3 separate regions of the Homo sapiens genome follow, and all the other regions are linked to region 1. Evidence: promoter capture Hi-C in human tissues and cell types (Jung and others, 2019). All regions are on one chromosome and are shown on one strand. Each heading gives the region's core, a stretch centred on a gene start or on the middle of the fragment in contact. The rest is flanking DNA. Distances are from core to core; before and after follow the strand shown.

Region 1 (2,959 bases), core at 192-2,691:
CCCCAGGCTGGGCTTGGTCACATCCAACTCAGGGCTGCCGTGGCGCCCGGCTGTCTCAGATGCAGCTCCGGGACCAGAGAGTGCAATTCGGGGACACTTTGCGGGGAGGGGGCGTCCCAGGCGCTGGCGGCTACACCCTCGGAGCCGGTGGGGGCGCAGCTCCGGGCGGGAGGAGCCTCCACCTCCCCCAGCTGGTGCCCCCTGCAGGATCTGCGAGGCGCGGGGGGAGCTGCACGTGCAGTCCGGAGCCCGGTGGCCGCGGGCGTCCCGGGGGCTACCTAGAGCCCAGTGCTGAATCTCCCGGCCTCACGGCCCAGCTCGAATCCGAACTCACTCGAGGGTGCCGACTTCCAACGCAATCCCCAGTTTCCTCGGTTTCGGTAGTAACCGCACATGGATAGCGCCGCTTTCTTCCTCCAAGCCCCTGCAGCAGCCCAGCATAAAAATCCCAGGTCAGGTGCAAATGAATGCTGTCTTTCTCAAAGAAAGAGAAAATCCAGACAACTTTAATCCATCTGGAGAAGGAAAAGTTTCCGTGCGGTGCTGAAACTGGCGACGCCGGTCGCCACCACCCTAGGCGACGCCCAGACCGGATGCCCGAGGCGGGCGGCCAGATGTTTGTCCCCTCGCAAGGCTCGCTCCTCCGCTCCAGCGCGCTTTCTCCAGTCTGGATCAGGGCCCAGGCTCCACACAGGCCGGCTCAGCGCCTCCTGCCCAGGCAGCCGCTCGGCGGCTGGGGCAAGGGTGGCGCGGCCAGAACGGGCTGCCCCATGTAGATGGGGCTTGGAGAAGCGAGGGAGCGAGAAAGCCGGCTAATGCGCCCTGCCCCGAGCCCTTCCTGCCCAGGACGTCGACTCCAGCTTGATGACCATAAACGCTGTAAGATGCAGAGGGGCTCCTGCAGCTCACGGCAGCTCCGGGCCACCCCGCTAAGGTCTCGCTGTCTCGGCAGAGAGGCGCGCTGCCCCGCCTCGCTCCTCGCCTTCCCTGGGGGAACCTGCACAAACCTTGAACTTTTCTGGGGTTCAGAGTCTCCGACGCCTCCTCCCCGCCGCCCCCACCCTGTCCCCGGACGCCCGTTCGCCCGCTGTCTCGATGCTGCCGGGCATCGGCTCCCGCTCCCTCCGAGTCAGTTTGGGCGAGCGGATCGCCGCGCCAGTCCGGGCTGCGGGCGGTGAGACGCGGGCGCGGCGCCAGGGGCCAGGGCAGCCGGCACCTGCGCAGCTTGCGGCCAGGGAAGCGGCAGCTGGTGCCTACGGGGCCGAGAGGAGAGGAGGTGCTGGCAGGGGAGCCGGCTCCCCATGGACGTGTGTGGGGGAAGAAGAAGAATCGAGGAGCAAAAAGGAAGAGGAGGTGGGGGAAGCCACAGTTGCACGAAGCAGCCGCCGCCGCCGTCGCCGCCTCCTCGGCGCTCGCGCCGGCTGCTCCGCCGTAAATGACTCGAGAGAGACACACACACTCGCGCTCGCCCGCCCTCCTCCTCCGTCCGGGATTCAGCGCCCACCCGGGCAGAAGCGGGCGCCGAGCTTGGCGCGCTCACTCCCACCCCTCCCAGATTCCCCGTGGTCACGTGGCCCCCGAGCGCGCGGCCCACAGCTCGCGCGCCACGGAGACTCCCCGACTCCTAGCTCCCCCTCCTCTGTCCACGTGTCCATTCCGCATTCCTAGCCTGGCGGCGCGCGCGGCTCCTTAATGAGACTCGGGCCAAGGGCCGACCTCGCGATTCCGCTCGCCCCTATTTTATGTTTGATTTTTCCTTCCCAACGCCGGCTAGCGCTGGGACCCGAATGGGGCCGGCCAGCTGCGGCGGGAGGAGCCTCCACCTCCCTCAGCTGCGTTTCTCCAGGGTAGACGCCACCGCAGTCACTGATGTCCCTTTTCAAAGGATGCACGCTCCCCACCGGGCGCCGGAGGTGTTTTGCAGCCGCTCTTCCAGAGGCGCGGGTAGGGGGCACCCTACCCCCACCCCCAGAGTTCGCTGGGCACTGGCTGGGAATCAGCCTCGCTGCTGTGCCCAGCTCCTCTCGGGCCGCGGGGGCTCTGGGGCTCAGCTTCGTGCGGGATGGGTCCGGGGCGCAGCTGTGGGAAACCTATTTATTCTGTTGCTGGGGAAGGAAGACGGAGAAGAGGAGGGGACAGTGCTTTCCTACAGGTTGTTTAGCAAGCCTTTAAAGAGGCATGAGGTGGGGGTGGGGAACTGCCCCTCTTGCATACTCACCCAGGCACCTGCTGACTAGCGGGAGGGGTGGCTGGAGTGATATCTGTTCCCACCATCAGGCCCTTTCCATTAGAGTGCAACCTAGATCAGACCCGGCAAGTCAACCTTCACACCTCATCTGTCAACCAGGCATCGGATCCATGGCAATGATTTTATAGCTTCGTTGGGTATCAACTCCAATCCCCAGAGGGTGAATTTCAATCCTACCCTGCTCTGGAGGGACAGGGTCTTCAATCCCATGGACATATCCCTACTGGGGAGGATATGGATCTTGAGGGTCACCCTTCCATACCTCTGCACTCAACTGGAGTGAGAGTGTGGGGCCAGGTCAGAGCAAAGCCAGCTGGGGCACTCAAACCGTGCCCTCCATCTGCCTGACTCCATGCTAGCCCTCTTGACCCTGAGAGTTTCCTTTCATCTAGGACGGTGACATTTTGTTTTTGGAAAATGTGCTTGCATTTTTCATGGAAGGCTTCCTCCTCCCTGGCTGCTGGCTGTTGCTGCCTCGCTTGGTACTGGGGCCTGTAGAGGGCTGCTCTGGCCCTTCCCCCACCCCTACATCTGTCTGGAGCTGGGGGGAGGTGCAGCCTGAGGAGAGCTGGCCAGCTCTTGGAGGCCCTGGGGATAGAAGGTGCTGGAGTCGTCAAAGAAGATTATTCTCATTAGGCCCCTAATGCCTGATGGCAATTAATGTCACCCAAGGGCTTATTCACCAACCCCCTGAGAAGCAAGCTAGCAATC
Region 2 (2,959 bases), core at 460-2,959, 1.0 Mb before region 1:
TATAGGCGTTCTTATGCCATACGTTTAGTTAACTTTTGGAGTACTTCCATGGGACTATCAATCAAGACATCCTGCCTTCCCCTGGCTAAGAGTGAAAGACAGGGTGGAGAGGGAACTTGAACCAAGAGAGGTCAGTCAAAATTTGTATCACGAGCAGAGTCACAAACAGAAATTGGTGGAAGCTCGTTCACTGCAACAACGTTGCCTGGATAAGAACTTCTAATTCCTGTTAGGCAGTCCCAATAGTATTGTTAAGTTCCTGTTCTTTCAGGGCTGGCTTTACTTATTTTGTGAGCTACTCCATACACTTCTAATAAATTCCGTTTTAGTTTAAATTAGCCTGTTTGTTTCTGTTGCTTGTAACCAAAGATCCCTAAGTGACAAAAATGTTTAATTTCCTGCTTGATTTAGTTGATGCTACCTCTCAACTTTGTATTTTTGCTATTCACTTAAGAAAAGCTTGTACATAACAGTTACTATTAAACAAGCACCTAATATGTATCCAGGTGCTTCATATGGATAAACTATGTCTAGTCTTAAAACTCTGTAAGGTAAAAATCATATATCAATATAATGTCTTTTGGTAGAGTAAAAAACACTTTTTATAACTATAATTAAGGACAATTTGTAAGGTTTTCTCTCCTATTGGAATAACTAAATCCAAACCTTGTTTTTGAGGGTTCTCATTATGCAAACCAATTATTTTTATAACATAAGGGCCTCTAGGGCAGTAAACAATACCTTCTATTCCCAGCTATTTAGCCCAGAGGTGGCACTTCCCAGAGGAAGGGAGGAGAGGTGGAACTCTCATCCAAATTCAATAAGGCTGTGTCAGCCAACTTCAGCGAGACAAAGCTGTACATAACATAAAAGCACTTTACAAACCTTAAGGTAAATCACATTCATTTTGGTATAAAAACGGCATGAAAGGAAACTTTCTGTCAAGTGTCCCCAGTGCATGCTAGTTACAATTCATAAAGCTCCCTCTGCGTTAGTACTGTATTCATATCGCTGGTGGTGACATATACAACTGTGTTCAAGGATGGAGACCATTTTCATCCAGTATAGCAAGTGCATGCAGTTATGCTTGAATATAGCCAAAACCTGGAAGACGTTAAACTACCAGCTTGGATGAAAATTAACCGTCTCAAGTACTGAGGAACAAGCATGAACCTTTCTCAATCCAATCATCTTTCCTTATAATTGGCGGCAATAAATCTAAGGCTCCTATCTCCTGCTATGTCGCTTTAAATCATTTCTGGAAGGCTAAGACATATAAATTAACCACCATCCCTGCCGCACGCGTACAGCAAAGTCCTTTCCACCTCCAGATTCCCTTCCTCCCACCGCCCCTAGCTTCATCGCCTGCAGGAACACAGGGCTCAGCAACGGGCCCGAGCTCTGGCTCCCGGCGCCAGACGTCTGCGCGGTGCCCCAAACAGCTTGTCAAAAAGACCTCGCAGAGAGAGGTTCAGAGCTGTAGCTTTCCAGCGAGGCTACCATGCAGACCCAGCTACGAAAAGTAAACCAAACTAGCCAAAACCAGCCCACAAGGGCCCTCTTCTGTTTCAGCGGGGCGGGAGCGGAAGCTCAGGTGGGTCATAGAGTTCTCTAGTTCTGGTTTCCGGACCGCATTCGGAACTAGAGCGCCTCTCTTCCGCCAGGCATCCCAGAGGTCCTGGTGGTTTCATTTCCGGGTGCGGCTTCTGTCATAAAGCGGAGACCTCCCTTCAAACGTGGCGTCGTGGGTTGTTTGCGCCTCGCCTGGGGTCAGCGAGCAAGGACGGGCGCGGGCGGGGATACTCAAAGCCAACAGCTGGAGTCAGCCCTTGTGTCCCGGGCTCACAGTGGCACGACTGAATCCTCAGAGTCGGCTGGCTTTTGAGCTCTCACGATTGGGGAGGAGGGGGCGTTTCTGGTTCGCAGCTCCAGAGGATTGCGTTCCTTCCCCCATACCTGTCCCCCACAGTCACGCTCTGCCCTGACGTGCAGCATTTGACAAGTTACCCCCTCGCCACATACTACTTCCACCCACGTCCGAGTTAACTTTGTTCTTAACCTTCTTGAGACTACCCTCGGCCTCCAGGTCTTTTTTTCCCAGTTCATTTTTGCCCATAAGATTGAGTTTCGAGTTTCAGATATCATGCAGAAAGTTTACCTTTAAGACTGAGCACCCATCTGATACTCTTCCTCCCGAAAAAGTTCATGCTCACGAGAGAGTTTGTGGGAAAAGTGAAAGCCAGTACACGCAGGAAACTATGGCTGAGCACGGGGCTCACTTCACAGCTGCTTCTGTGGCCGATGACCAGCCATCCATCTTTGAGGTGGTAGCACAGGACAGTTTAATGACAGCAGTGAGACCCGCTCTTCAGCATGTGGTCAAGGTAAGGTATTAATTCTTGGAAAGGTTTTAGGGACAACTGGGTAAAAAACAAACGAATAATTTGTGCTTATTTGGTAGCCTAGCGTTTGAAATAGCCAATTTGCAAATAACTTGTATCCCATGACTTAAGAGTTACTGAGTCTCTGTTATGTGTAGAGACCTGTACTGAATACCCAGCATTTCAGGGTCCAACAGTGACTTATTTAAAACAAATTGTGTAGACTTTAGAGGAAAAGGGGGAATGTAAATAGGTGTAGAACTTGTGTAATGGAATGAATTTCACTTATTGCTTTATTTTGCTTTAGGTTCTTGCAGAATCAAATCCCACCCACTATGGCTTCTTGTGGAGGTGGTTTGATGAAATCTTTACTCTGCTAGATCTTCTGCTCCAGCAACATTATCTGTCTAGAACCAGTGCCTCATTTTCTGAAAACTTTTACGGCTTAAAGAGAATTGTAATGGGGGACACTCACAAGTCTCAGAGATTGGCTAGTGCTGGTCTCCCAAAGCAGCAGCTTTGGAAATCTATTATGTTCCTGGTTCTTCTTCCCTATCTGAAAGTGAAGCTGGAGAAGC
Region 3 (2,959 bases), core at 231-2,730, 560 kb before region 1:
GCTGGACATAGCAAGGCTGAATTGACCATTATAAGGAGTGTTCTTTTTTTCCTGCATGTAAGGGAGCCGTCGCAGGGTTTGAGGGTGAAGAGCAGCAGGCCAGATTTTTGGTCTGAAAAGATAACCCTGGCTGCATCGTGGAGAATGGGTAGAAAGAGGCAGGAATGGAAATGGGGGGGCTCATCGGGAGGCTGTTGTAGCGGTCCAGGCAGGTGATGATGGTGACTCTGACCAGAGTGAGGCAGTGGAGATGGGGAGAGCAGATTCAAGCTGTGTTCATGAGGATGACTTGGCAGAGCTTGAGACTGCCTGAGCAGTGGAGGGAGAGAGAGGAGAGTTGGCAAGGGAGATCCTTCGTTTCAGGCAAAAGAGCTCAAGTTCATTGCTGTCTGCTTCAGTTCCTCAGTAATATGGGGAGAAAAGGGTTGTAAGAATTAAATGAGTTATGTGGGAAAGCACTTAGAACAATTCCTGACTTGTTGATGTCATTATCACTATTATTGCTTTACAGCATTGATGATTGTAGAAATGATTTGCTTTTGTACTCGAGTATTATTGAGTTGATCCATTTTATTTATTTATTTATTTATTTATTTATTTATTTATTTATTTATTTATTGAGACAGAGTCTTGCTCTGTCATCCAGGCTGGAGTGCAGTGGTGAGAGCTCGGCTCACTGCAACCTCTGCCTCCCAGGTTCAAGAGAATCTACCACCTCAGCCTCTCCAGTAGCTATGACCACAGGCGCATGCCACCACGGCTGGTTAATTTTTTTGTATTTTTAGTAGAGACCTGGTTTCACCATGTTGGCCAGGCTGGTCTCGAACTCCTGGACTCAAGTGATCTGCTCGCCTGGGCCTTCCAAAGCGCTGGGATTACAGGTGTCAGCCACCACGCCCAGCCTTGACTTGATCCATTTTTAAAAGGATACTAATTTCTAGGCTAGGCGTGGTGGCTCACACCTGTAATCCCAGCACTTTGGGACACTGAGGCTGGGGAGTGGGGGACTTGCTGCTTGAGTTCAGGAGTTTGAGACCAGCCTGGGCAACATAGTGAGACCTCGTCTCTACAAAAAATGAGAAAAAAATAACCGGGCAGGGTGTCATGTGCCTGTAGTCCAGGCTACTCTGAGGCTGAGGTGGGAGGATCGCTGTGCCAGAAAGTTCGAGACTGCAGTGAGCCGTGGTGGCACCACTGCCCTCCAGTCTGGGCGACGGAGTGAAACTCTGTCTCAAAATGAAATTAAATTAAAATGGGGCAAGAATCCCTGTTGTGAAGAGTCAAAAGTTTACTGTGTCCTCTAAGACCCTGGCGAAAAATAAATGTGAAGGCTGTTGAGGGGCGGGAGGAGCACCAGGTAAGCCCATTTCTAATCCCTGAGGCCGTGCGCAGCGGGACGCTTCTCCTCCCCAACAGCAGAGGGCGATGTGGCCGGCGGCGACCCCGCCCGACCACGGAGACGGCGCTCTGTCTGCCGGGCTCTTTCTCCTCCACGTGGGGACGCAGGATGGCGGCAGCAGTGCCGGTGGGTGTGCGTGGATGGGGGCGGGGGGCGTCGCCGCGGGGCGCTAGGGCCCGGGTCCCTGAGGCCTGAGAGAGGCGAAGTGGGGCCCTTCTGGGCGGGCGACCAGACTGACTCCCGCCCCACTTGCTCGCGCAGGACGAGGCGGTGGCGCGCGATGTGCAGCGGTTGCTAGTGCAGTTCCAGGATGAGGGCGGGCAGCTGCTGGGTTCCCCGTTCGACGTGCCCGTGGACATCACCCCGGACAGGCTGCAGCTCGTGTGCAACGCGCTACTGGCCCAGGTAAGTGGCTGGCCAGGGCGGCCTCGCATCTCCACCCCCGGGCGGATGCGGTGGGGGAATCATATTACCGAGGGTCTGCGGTTCATGGTCCCCCGCTAACGGACTGTGGTGACCCACCTGGCGTGAGCTCCCACCTATGTCAGAGATGGAATCAGTGGCATAGCGCTTTACACGCCAACCAAAGGGGTCCACCTGCGGAGAGGGGCCTAGCTTTGAACGCACCGGATGCTGTATTTCATTGATTCTTTGTCACAGTCCCCCAGTCTGGGACACGTTAATATCCCCATTTTACAGCGTGGCCCGGAGGGACTCAGTATTTTGCACGATGCTATGTAGTAGGTAGCAGATTTGGAATTGGAACCCAAAACTATCCGAATACCCATGCTTTTATTTATTTATTTATTTACCTTTTTTTTTTTTTTTTTTGAGACGGAGTCTCACTTTGTCGCCAGGCTGGCAAGCTGGAGTGTAGTGGCGTGATCTCTGCTCACTGCAATCTCTGCCTCCCAGGTTCAAGCGATTCTCCTGCCTCAGCCTCCCGAGTAGCTGGGACTACAGGCGCGCGCCACCACACCCAGCTAATTTTTGTATTTTTAGTGGGGACTGGGTTTCACCACGTTGGCCAGGATGGTCTCGATCTCTTGACCTCGTGATCCTCCCGCCTTGGCCTCCAAAGTGCTGGGGATTACTGGCGTGAGCCACCGCACCCGGCCTTTGCTTTTAACCTTTAAGCCAGTGTGTTTACTGAAGAGCTGCCCTGGGGACAGGGGAGGTCCTTAAAATTGCAGTTCCTGGACCCCATCCCAGCCTTACTAAACCAAACTCTGGGATGAAGCAGAAAGTCTACATTTTTTAACAGGCGTTTTGGGAGCTTTTTACACAAATATAGTGTAGTGTGGTAGTTTGGGAAACACTGCATAATGCTATATGCTAATCCTATCTTGGACGTAAAGAACCTGAATTAATCATTGGCAATAGGACATTGAACTAATTACTTAGTTGTTCTGAGCCTCTGCTTTTGAAAACTGTCAGTGGGAATATTAGTATCTACTTCCCACGGTTGTTATGAGATGCAGATAAAGAATTTCAGGCCGGGTGCAGTGGCTTATGCCTGTAATCCCAGTACTTTGGGAGGCTGAGGTGGGCAGATCACTA

What was found. Contacts are between HindIII fragments. The study calls those that stand out against the background at their distance.
Region 2: the fragment with the promoter of PEX12 here is called in contact with the fragment with the promoter of TMEM132E in region 1 in 2 of the 25 tissues and cell types used here (IMR-90 fibroblasts and dorsolateral prefrontal cortex).
Region 3: the fragment with the promoter of NLE1 here is called in contact with the fragment with the promoter of TMEM132E in region 1 in 2 of the 25 tissues and cell types used here (IMR-90 fibroblasts and spleen).

Annotation. Positions count from the first base shown.
Region 1 is chr17:34,578,064-34,581,022 of GRCh38, reverse strand. It overlaps TMEM132E (transmembrane protein 132E), which reads right to left and starts at 1,441. Exons shown (of 9, transcript NM_001304438.2): 1 at 1-1,441. TMEM132E-DT (TMEM132E divergent transcript) reads left to right here and starts at 1,654. Exons shown (of 2, transcript NR_160787.1): 1 at 1,654-2,152. RefSeq lists enhancers at 1,417-1,952, 1,953-2,489. The HindIII fragment of the contact is 28,166 bases long and covers 1-2,959 here.
Region 2 is chr17:35,577,321-35,580,279 of GRCh38, reverse strand. It overlaps PEX12 (peroxisomal biogenesis factor 12), which reads left to right and starts at 1,709. Exons shown (of 3, transcript NM_000286.3): 1 at 1,709-2,384; 2 at 2,689-2,959. The coding sequence starts at 2,259. RefSeq lists an enhancer at 1,630-2,445. The HindIII fragment of the contact is 4,748 bases long and covers 1-2,959 here.
Region 3 is chr17:35,140,824-35,143,782 of GRCh38, reverse strand. NLE1 (notchless homolog 1) reads left to right here and starts at 1,480. Exons shown (of 13, transcript NM_018096.5): 1 at 1,480-1,525; 2 at 1,661-1,804. The coding sequence starts at 1,508. RefSeq lists an enhancer at 1,172-2,049. The HindIII fragment of the contact is 6,679 bases long and covers 1-2,959 here.